2 separate regions of the Homo sapiens genome follow, and region 1 is linked to region 2. Evidence: promoter capture Hi-C in 16 types of primary human blood cells and fetal thymus (Javierre and others, 2016). All regions are on one chromosome and are shown on one strand. The core of a region is centred on a gene start or on the middle of the fragment in contact, and the rest is flanking DNA. Distances in the headings are between cores, read along the strand shown.

Region 1 (5,731 bases), core at 99-2,598, 310 kb after region 2:
CGGGGCCTGGCAGGCTGAGGGTGGGCTCAAAGCTGTTTGCAAAATAGAGGACTGAGAAAACGTCAGAAGTTAGCGAAGGGGTGGGCTGCTTCCTCTGACACGTCCATCCTGCCCAGAGCTCACAGCTGGAAGGGGCCAGAGCCAGGATTTGAACCCCACGTATCTGACTTCAAAGACCATCCTCCTGGCTCCACTGGCTCCTGCCCTTCCAGATTTCCCAGAACAGCCCCAGGACGTGTGTAGTGTGAGGCTCTGACCCTCGCTTTTGTGAAATCTGGTCACTGTGAGCTCTGAGCCTGCTGGGTTCCTCATTTCAACCTCCTGGGGAGCACCCAGTTTCAGCAACCCACTTACTCCCAGCCTGTGAGGTTTTGGGAGGGAGGGAACATAGACCCATGTCTAACACTCAGAATCGTCCCTGCAGCCACTAATCTGTCCCATGCCCATCTGGGGCTTCCACACCTTCCAGCTGCCCTCCCTGGGCCCTCTGTGGGCTGCCATCTCTCCTGCCAAGGGCCCTGACAGGCCCAAAGGACTGGCACATGGGTACCATGTGGAGGAGAGTACAAGGGTGCTCCTTGGCAGTGCCCACCCACAGCTCCCTGGGGCAGCCAGGAAGAATGGCTGGAGCAAAGGGTTGCTCTTTGGGCTCCCGTGGGAGGTTAGAGACAGTGCCTAGGATGTGTTCAGGGAGCTGGACTTTGGGGGGCACTGATTGGCATGGCCACTGACCAATAGGTATGGAAGTCAGGCCTGAGCTGGAATGGGATCCTTACGTATGGATTGGCGGGAGGTGCAGGAGCTCTGAGAGATTGAGCTGGGGGGGAATTTTCAACTGGTGTGGAAATATTTCTCCATTTTATTCATAATAACTGGTATGGCTGGCTGGGTGAGTACTGGTGAATGGCAGCCTGATACATGTGCACATACATGCATGCACTCTCTCACACGCACACACTCGAGGCCCTGAAGGCCCCTGAGGGCTCAGTCCATTCCCAGCTGGGAGGAACCCTAGCTCTTCTTCCCTGAGACTAAGCCATGGGTGGCCCGTAGTGAACAGGGAAAGCCAAGTGTCTTCCTGCCTGGCCTTCCCGGGCCTACACTGCAGAGCCCCCTCTGCCGCTGATCACCATCCTGTCTCCTAGCAGAGCTGCCTCCAGCCTCTGCCCCAGATGATCTTCCAGGTGAGCAGGTCCCCCAGGCTGAGAGCAGCCGGGTGGAGGGGCACACTGGTGACGCTGGAGCATCTAGCCAACAGGCATCTCCTGGGCCAGCGCTCCCATCGCCTTTCTCCCCTGCAGAAGGACAGAGACCCAGGTTGCTACGCTGCCTCGGGGCAAATGTCTGGCTGTTCTCTGGGGTCTTTAGAGGCTGTAGGCTAAGGTTTATTCATTTATTCATTCATTCATCCCATGAATACTTAATGGCACAGACTATTTGTGAAGCACAGTTCTAGGATCTTAGGAACACAGCAGTGAACACACACAAACCCCCTGCCCACATGGCACCTGCATTCTGATGAGTGTAGAGACTCTTGCACACAACTGATGCACCAGGACACACGTGCACACACAGCACACGCATGCACACAGCACACCCTGCCACACGTACACAGGTACGTACCAGCACACACTGCCGACTGCTGACAGCACAGTCTGAGCCAAGTGCTGCTGTGGGATCCCTGGGGCCCATCCAAGGCCCCTTCCTGTGGAAGGAAGTAGAATGAACAGCGCGTCGAACAAACAGGAAAGTAGGAGGAAGTGCTCATCGCCCCTGCCACAGTGCAGGAATCAGCCATTGCCCTGGCAATCCCCTTCCCAACTGAAATCAAATAGAATCAGAGCAGCTGCCACTGGACGTGACAGGCTGTGCAACTTCACCTCTCTTAGTCTTATCGGGAAAATGGGGACTCTCATTCCTCACTCCCAGTGCTGTTGTGGGAGCCAAATGCGGTCACGTACACAGTGAGCTCATTCCCCAAGCAGCCCATTCCAGGACTGGCCCCAGCTTCAAGGGGAGGTTTCCCATCCTCTGGGGGATACCTTCCCTGAGTAGGAATGAGGCCCACGGGAGGACTTTGGGCCTTGGTGCCTCCGGGGCAGGGATGGCTGATTGGCCCAAGGGGCTGGGGCTGGGGCAGGTAAGACCTGTACTCAGCCTCTTGCCTAGTGGGAAGGTGAGCAGGTAGGAGGGCCATTAGAGGACATCTGAGCTGTGAGCACCCCGGCCCCCAGCTGTCCCATCTGACATCATTTCCCCAGCACCTGCCTTCTGAGCAAGGGGAATGTCAGGCCCAGAGCCAAGTGCCTCTCCCCAAGTGACCTCAGATGCTTTAAGCAGTAGCCCCTGGGATAGGAGTGGGCTTCCTGCAGGATGCTGGGGGCAGAGGGGCGGCCAGCCAGAACAGCTGGGAGTGCAGAGGGGCTGTGTGGAGGTGGGGAGTGGAAGGAGAGAGCTGGAGAGTCTCCAGCAGCCTCTTGGAGGACTGAGTGGGCGGGAAGGGATGTTAGTGGCAGCTGATAGGAGTGGAGGGGTCCATCCTCTGCCCTTGCATCACACACCTGGGTGAGCCCAGCTTGGGGCTTCCAGGGTGACAGGGGCCCTGTGATCCCAGCACCCAATCCTCTTGGTCCTGGTTCATAGAGGACTCAGGCGCTTGGGGTGGTGTCTGAGTTCTTTCCATGGGGAAGCTGTCGAGGAACCCACTTGGTGGGTCAGTGGGGGTCTGGTAAAATGGAAGGAGAGAGGCCTGTATTAGTCCATTTTCACCCTGCTGATAAAGACATACCCAAGACTGGGCAATTTACAAAAGAAAGGGTTTTAATGGACTCACAGTTCCACGTAGCTGGGGAGGCCTCATAATAATGGAAGAAGGCAAAACGCACGTCTCACATGGTGGTAGACAAGAGAAGACAGAATGAGAGCCAAGCAAAAGGGGTTACCCCTCATAAAACCATCAGATCTCCTGTGACTTATTCACTACCACAAGAACAGTGTGGGAGAAACCGCCCCATGATTCACTTATCTCCCACTGGATCCCTCCCACAACACATGGGAATTATGGGAGTACAATTCAAGATGAGATTTGGGTGGGGACACAGAGCCCAACCATATCAAGGCCCTTCCCCAGAGGGGCAGGCTCTAAACCCAAGGGAGCCCACAGAGGGGAGGAACAGAGTGGGAGTAAGAATAATGCTATGAGCAGGACTGCAGCTGGGGGAGCTAGGAAGATGAGCAGGGCTGACCCTTTGGGGTGAGGTAGGACTCGCAGCAGGCAAAGAGGGAGCAGGGCAGCAAGAGGAAAGTGCAGGCAGCCACTGCGGAGGGCATGGTGGACCCCAGCAGCCATGGGACCCTGTCTCCTTCCCAATCATCATCATCGTCACAGCAGCCACCAAGGATTTAGTATTAAGCTTTAACCCTGACACCCCAACAGTGTAGACACACTTGCTCCCCCCACCCCTTTACAGTGTGGAAACCAAAACTTGGAAAAGCTAAGCTGTTTGCCATAGCCCTGACCAACTACACAATCCAGGAGTCATTCACATTGGATTCACAAATCCACCTTCAGGTCCAGAGTCACAGTGACTGAAGAAACTGGGGTTGGCCCCTGGGGCCTGTGACTCTGTGTGCTTTCCAATAGTTCTCAAGGCCAATGGGAATGAAGACCCCTGGTTCATAAAAAGAGGAGAGGAGTAGGCCTTTTCTAAGGAGGCACAAGTCCACTAAACCCAACTTTTCCTCCATCAATCTATGCAATAAGGATTTATCAGGCACCCACTCTATGCCAGGCACTGTGGAAGGAATCAGGGGTCACCAAGGTAAACAAGTTTGTGGAGCTGACAGTCCAGTTGTGGGGGAGGCACAGGGAAAAAAACACAAAAACAGCAGAAAAAGCGCCCCATGTCAGGGACAGAGAGGACAGCAAAGGTGATCAAGGCCCTGTCTCTACCTGCCAGGAAGTGCACAAGGTAAGACAAGCCGGTCCCCAGGCTGGCTGTTGTCCCTTGATGTCCTCATTGCCCGGGGCACTGTGGAGGCTGCCACTCCACCAGGACATGGAGGAATGAATCCAGTCCCATGGGCTGACTGGCCCAGAGTTCAAGAGGATGCACGGGAACCAATCACAGTGTGAATGCAAATGAGAACCAGGCACCCCCTACCCACAAGGGGAACTGATCTGGGCCTCCTGTCTATGTGGTCAGGAAAACCTTTTCCAAGAGGCCAACGGAAACTATCTGTAGCTTGTGATGATCTAAAATGCCTCGTCAGGGATTGCTTAATGAGTTTATTTAACAGACAGCTGGGGCAGAGGGGTTGTCCAGGTGGGCTGTGTGTATTTCCTTCCTCTGAGGACTGAGCAGGGCAAGGACTCCATCCTGCATCGGTCTATGGGGGATGCAGGTCATCAGACCCCCATGACTCCATGTGTGGGATGCCTGTGCCTGGTCCCATATGGAGTCTGGTTTCCATCTCCTTCAGAAAAGGAATGTGAAGGTGGCAGCCTGGCTGGGACTGGGGAATGGAGAATGGAGTGGGAAAGCCACGTGGGAGAGCAACCAGCTTTCCTGCCAGTGTCACAGGGCAGAGTGAGCATCTAGGGTGGGAGTCATGGCACTGGGAATTGAGGGACTTGGTTCTGTCTCAGATGTCCCCTAATTAGTTGCATGTGGTCATTGTTTGCAAAAATAGTCACATGTATTCCCCTCCCTGTATCTATGCTCTCTGCAACATGACTATACAGCTAGCACCTCTCTGATGGCTGGTCGTGTGACCTTCTTTGGCTAATGGAATGTGGGGGAAAACACAGTGTGTCAATTATAATCCTAAGTCTCAAGGAGTTTTGCACACTTCTCCCCACTTCTTCTCTCTCTCTGCCTCACTCTCTCAAAACCTGCCACTGCCTCATGAAGAAGCCCAAATTAGCCTGCTGGAGCATGAGAGGCAAGTGGGTCAGTACTCCATCATCCCAGATGACAGCCAACTTACCCCCAGAAGCAGAACCACCACCCTACCTGCAGCCAACTTCAGACGCAAGAGAAGACCAGATGAGCCACCTAGCTGAGCCCAACCTAAATGGCTGACACACACACAGAATCATGAGCTAAACAAATGGTGGTTGTTTCGGGCCCTAAATTTGGGGTTAGTTTATTACACAGCAATAGCTAACTGATAGGATAGGTAATCATAATGACAGCTACCATTTGCTGAAGGCCTATTGGACACCAGGCCCAGCACTAAGCACTTGACATACATTGCATGAGTCCCCTGACTCATTTAATCCTCACAATAGCCCTGAGAGTTGGTATTTGGATGCACACTTTATAGATAAGAAAACAGAGGCTCAGAGGAGACATGAGTCTGGTCTAAGGTTGCTGAACAGTAAGAGACAGAGATCAGATGAGAACCTAAAATCTGTCTTCATGGGCTCGGTGTCTGAATCTCCCTTCCAGAGGAGCCTTAATGTCAGAGAGAATCAGCATCACTTGAGAGACTGTAATGTATTCTGCACACGGGAGCTGACATCATTAAGAATGTTCTCAGCCTTCCGTCCCCAAGAATTATGCCCTGTCTCACCCTGTTCTTCTCTCACCCCCAGTCAATGCCTCTAATTCCCTTGGGCTTCTGGAGGGAAAGACAAAAGACACAGATGAAGGGATAATTTATTTCTTTTTGATCCCACCTGCTATTTAATCAGTAAATATTTACAGAGGGCCTGCTATGTGCTAAT
Region 2 (5,449 bases), core at 474-2,973:
AGGGCAAATTCCCTGCCCCCAACTCTTCCCACCAGGGCCGGACCTGAAGGCCAAGGCCTCCGGGTATGTGCTCAGGACTCCTGGCCCAGAGAAGGTTTTTCCCTTTCTGCGTCTTTGCTTCCCCTTCCGCTTTGGGGTTCAGGAACCCCGATTCTCTGGAAGAAGAGAAGGCCTAGGCTACTGAGCTGCTCTGGCTAGAGACGTCCTTGAGTGTCTCTCTCTCCCGGGCAATGGTGGCTGTGCTCTGGGGGGCCCAGGCCTGCCTCCTGTGGCTGCGTTCAAGGCAGCTTGGAGGTCATTTAGGCCAGCTCCCCCGGGTTCCCCGTGGGCTCAAATCAGGACCCAGACCCTTCTCTCTTGCCACAGCTCTGGGCCACCTGGGACTCGGGACTTCCTGTCTCCCTTCCTACTCTGTCCTAAACCATTGTTCAGAGGCCTGCCGCCTCCAAGAATCGCCGAGGGAGAAGCTCCAGGGGAACTGGCCTGCCCGCATCCCCACTGCCAGTAGCGCTCAGGGTCCCAGGACTCGGGTCTTGCCAGACCACAGTGTCCCCTGGGACCCTAGGGTCTCTGGCTCCGCACTGTGTTGCGCCAGTGCGCCTGGATTTCCCGTGAGCTTTCGGCCAACCACGCTCCGGGCTTCCCGCCTGGCTCCGCACCTGCGGCGCTCTCACCTGCGGCGGCGCCGCCCGAGGAGCCTCCCAGCCGGCGAGGAGCGAGGCTTCTGCAGTCCTGCTGTCCCGCAGCCCCGCAGCCCCGCAGCCTCGCAGCCCCGCAGCCCCGCAGCCCCGCAGCCCCGCAGCCCCGCAGCCCAGCGCCAGAGCGCTGCGCGGAGACTCCTTGCCGCCGCACGCCCTGGGCCGGTAAGAAGCATCCGCTTCAAATCCCGCCCAGCGGGCAGCGCAAAGCGAGCGGTTTGGGGAAATGCCGAAGGGACCGGGAAAAACAAACTCCAAGTCGAGTTTAACAGCCGAAACGCTCCGTGCCTAGGCCGGCGGACAAGAAGGAGACAGAACAGATCCCTTGGCTCCCTCGCAGCGATCGATCCCGTTTACCGACCAGAGTCACCACCCCGCCCCCAGCCCGCCAACTCATACCTCCCGCAAGCCACCAGTTTCAAGGGATGCGGAAGCCAAGCACCCCGTGGTCCCCAGCACCAGGTGACCCGCACGTGCACTCACCGTAGCAGGGAACCTGCAAGGCCGCGCTGTGGCCGCTGCTGCCTTCCTGGAGTTTGAGGCTGCCGTCCGGGGGCGTCTTGCAGGCGCCTCGCTGCAAGTAAAGATGCGGTTGCGCGGGCGGCTGGGGCTGCGGCTGCTGCTGCTGCGGCTGCGGCTGCGGCGGCGGCTGGGGCTGCGGGGTCGACGGCTGGGGCTGGAACTTGTTAAAGGAGCCCCGCGCCCCAGCTCCACTCTCCAGGGGTGTCGCCAGGTCCTGCTGCCCAGCGCCGTAACGGGCCCGGCTCTTGGCGTCCCCGAATCCCTGTGCTTTGGCGGCGGCCGACAGGAAAGTTGTGCCGAACTTGTCGCCTCCGGGAAATGCCCTAAAAGGCGACGAGCCCTCCCGACTCTGCGACACCGGGCTGTAGTAGGCGTCCATGGCAGCGGCCGGCGACTCGCAGTAAGAGACGCAAGTCTCAGCATTCATGCCTGGCTTGCGCAGGCGGCGGGCGGGGACGCGAGCGAGGGCGCGAGGACGCCACCGCGCGCCTTGGCTGGGAGTTTGGGGAGGCGAGGAGGCTGTGGCTGTGCACTCCTTGCCCGGCCTGCTCGCTCTCCCTCCTCCCCTCCACGCCGGCCTCTCTCTCTCTCCCCCTCTTCTTTCTCTGTCTCTCTCCTCTCTCTCCCTCCTCTCTCTCTCTTCCCCTCCCTCCCCCCCCCTTCCTCTCTCTCTCCCTCTCTCTCTTTCCTCCCTCCCCACAGCTAGCCGAGGGAAAGAACGGAGGGCAGTAAAAAGATTCAGATGTTTCGGAAAGTTGACCAGATCTCCCAAACCCTCTTAAGGTTTTGCAGCGGAAAAAAAAAATAAGTAAATTTTTTTCCCTGCCTTGCTTCTTCCTTTCCCCCTCTCTCGTCCCCTCCTCCTCTCTCCTTCCACTGGCCCCTGCCCCCTCCTCTCCACTCTTAAGGAGATGCTACTAACTCGCTAGCGGGGATTCAACCCGGAGGCGCCCGAGGGCTTTTCCGATTCTAGGCGGGGCTGGGGAGATGCCAGGATCCCCAGGGCTCCCGAGGCTAGGCTGAGAATTGGCGGGGTGTCGGAGCTTTGCCTTAGGGCAAAGGGAAATGCAAATTTTAATGACAGGTTAAAAAAAAGCCCCCCAAAATAAACCTAACAGGTTTTGACATTCGAAGCCAGGGGGACCACGGGCCTGCGGATGCAAGCGAGTCCTACGGACTCCTGCGCGCGAGCTCGCGGGCGCCGCTGCGGGCCTTCCCGCTGGCACCTTTTCCTAGGTTTCCAACCTTCCTCCCCATTCCCGTTCCTACGGGAGATTAACACACACACAAGCCTTCGTCGTCCAGTGCATGGTCACTTGCACGTCTTGTTAACTATTTCCCTCTGCTGTAAGGGCGCTGGGCTGGGATGTAGCGGAATCTGTGCTCCCTCAAGCCCTGGAGAAGCCCTGGGCTGGGCCCGGCTTCAGAAGCTTTAGAGCGCTGCCCTCTGCGCTCCCGTCTAGAGGCCGCACCGTTCACGCCCCACGTCTGCGCCCAGGCGAGGGGATTTCCTGCCAGGCGAAGTACAGAGAGCGGACTCTGGAGACCCCCTGACCTTGCCCGATAGTCGCGCTGTCACCTGTTCACTCCTTGGGGTCAGGGGTCGGGGAGAGGGGTGAGACCGTCTCTTCCCTTTCTGGCCTCACTGCCCCCGACTGTAAAACGAACTGCTTGGTTTTGATAGGTTGTGGTTTCACCACCACTGCGAGCCTCAAGGCCCCTGGCACCGCCACAGCAAGGGAAAAAACTTTGCGCGTGCAGCCCCTCGATTTCGCTTCATGACAACCGTGCTAGAGATTGGCGCCCCCAATTTTCTGATGAGCTAACGGAGGCTCAGAGAGGGGCGGCCACCTGGTCCAGGTCACACAGCTGGGAAATAGCCGTCGCGCCCTGGAACCTCTGCTCAGGCTAGTCCCTCCACCGACCTGGAAGGCCGTGCGGACAGCGTAGATGCAGAGGGGAAACTGGCCCCCGGCTGTGGAATGGTTCAAGTTGAAGGAGACCAGCGAGAGCAGCCTTCCTTAAACCGCTGAGAAAATCGTTAAGCGAGAACGTACCTCTAGGGAGTCTGGGAGTAGGGTGAGAGGTAAAAGTGCAAGGTAAAATTAAAGAGGGCCTGAGCACCGTGAACCAAGGAATGTGGGTCAGATGTCAACTTTCTGCATCTAAGGTCTCCCAAAGAAAAAATATACCTGGGGGGTCGCGCTTCTGCTCCCAATCTCATCTGGGCTAATTCTTACCCCCACCCTACCCCCTTAGTATCTCTGGTCCTTGCTCCGCCGCCGACCGCGCGATCCCACATCTGGTTTCCATCGCCGGCTTACCTTGAAGTGCTCGTTAATAAAGATATTCCGCAAACCAAGCCAGGAGCGCGCAGGCTCCAGCCGCCCCCCACTCCATGCCCAATGGGAACCGCGCCTCACTGGCCCGCAGACCTAAGCCACTTGAGAGTCCTTTATTTATTGAGCTCCTGTTGTGCCAACAATCTGGCAATACAAGGCTTATCATACCCATTTTGCATATGGGTAGACTGAGACTCAACCAAAATAATTTTCCAGTTAGCAAAAAGCGGAGTGCTCCTGCCATCATCCTAAATGCTCCTGTCCAGCGGTTTCTTCAAGTTCCTAGAACCTGCCAAGGTCTCTAGCCTGTGCACTGTAGCATAGGTGGTTTCCCCTACCTGGAATTCCCTAAACTCATTCCTGCACTTTTGTCTGGCTAATGATTCAGAGTTCAGCCTAGAGCATCTTCCTCTAGGAAGACTTCCCGTCTCTCCTAGTTTAAGTTGACGCTTCCGTTTGCCTCATCTCCGTCCCAGATCTCGTGGTTGTCTGGTTGCCTGGCTATGAGTGTATCTCAACCCCACTAGTTGCCCCAGGGCAGCCTCCTACGTGCCTGGCACCCCACAAATATTTGTGGAATAAAAGATTAAACCTGGACCAGGCGCGGTGGCTCACACCTGTAATCCCAGCACTTTAGGAGGCCAAGGAGGATGGATCACAAGGTCAGGAGATCGACACCATCCTGGCTAACACGGTGAAACCCTGTCTCTACTAAAAATACAAAAATTAGCCAGACGTGATGGCAGACGCATGTAGTCCCAGCTACTTGGGAGGCTGAGGCAGGAGAATGGCGTGAACCAGGGAGGCAGAGCTTGCAGTGAGCCGAGTTTGTGCCACTGCACTCCAGCATGGGCGACAGGGCGACAGGGTGAGACTCCGTCTCAAAAAAAAAAATAAATAAATAAAAATAAAATAAAATAAAGATTAAACCTGGGGCTGTAGGACTCTATCACCTCAGTGTATTCCAACTGCTCAGTGCAGCACCAAGTTCTGAGACTCTTTCTTTGGTTTCCCTTAGTCAAGGACAGCTGGTCACCCACCCACCCCCTCTTCAAAAATCAAGTAGCGGAATTAACAGCGTGCTGGACCTTCCTGAGCCTGTGCCTTGAGAGCAGTGAGTTTTCTCACAGCAGGGGCCAGGTCTGTCTTGTTCGCTGTAGGGCTTGGCACTCATAAAATGCTTGTTGAGTGAATGAATGAAAGTGTCCTATGGTTCCCAGGGGCTTAGAGATGCATTTTTTTGTCAAGGAGTTCCAAGCCAGCCGCCTACTCCAGTCTCCTGTGCCCAGCAGCTGCCTGTAGGCACCCAGAAGGTGGTGGCAATACCCCCGCTTCTTTCTCCACCTCCATTCCTGTCTAAAAAATGAGGGAAGGACTATGAGAGGCAAATTGTGGTGGAGAGGGTTGGGGTGGGGATGACAACCCCGAGACAGGAACAATTGCAATTGTACACTCTTCCTAGAACCTCTGAACCAGGCGCACCCAATGCAAAAATTTGCTGTGTTTCATGAAGCATTTTTTGAGCATCACCTCGCCTCTTACCACCTAAACACTCTGAGCTTGTATTACCTGTTTAATTACTGCCTCGCTATTCAACCTTTCCCTGACCACCTGGATATTCAAACCCAAGGATTTCATGCCCTAAGCCAGAATCTTTCCTGTCTTGCCTGAGACCCTGTGTCCTTGGAACGAGCGCCTTTAGTCCTCCGCATTTTATCTTATAGATGCATCCAGGAAGAATGAGCGAGTGCCAACAAGTGAGAAAGTGCCTTGGGGACAACGTTCCGGGCAAGTCCTTTGAATGTGTGACCTGAAGCCCTCATGCAAACCTCCACCGACTCCCTCTCCTAGGTCCCTTCCAAAACATTCCAGGGACTGTGGTAATAA

Evidence for each region. The method cuts DNA at HindIII sites, captures the fragments that hold promoters and counts their contacts. A CHiCAGO score of 5 or more calls a contact.
Region 1: a contact is called between a fragment that was not itself captured here and the fragment with the promoter of ALX4 in region 2, in 2 of 17 cell types (total B cells and naive B cells). The highest score is 5.7, in total B cells.

The regions. Positions count from the first base shown.
Region 1 is chr11:44,621,839-44,627,569 of GRCh38, forward strand. No RefSeq gene overlaps it. Among named protein-coding and RNA genes, the nearest start is that of CD82-AS1, 19 kb to the left of the region's middle. The HindIII fragment of the contact is 4,125 bases long and covers 1-3,411 here.
Region 2 is chr11:44,308,416-44,313,864 of GRCh38, forward strand. It overlaps ALX4 (ALX homeobox 4), which reads right to left and starts at 1,724. Exons shown (of 4, transcript NM_021926.4): 1 at 1,182-1,724. The coding sequence starts at 1,647. RefSeq lists an enhancer at 1,702-2,630. The HindIII fragment of the contact is 7,283 bases long and covers 1-2,648 here.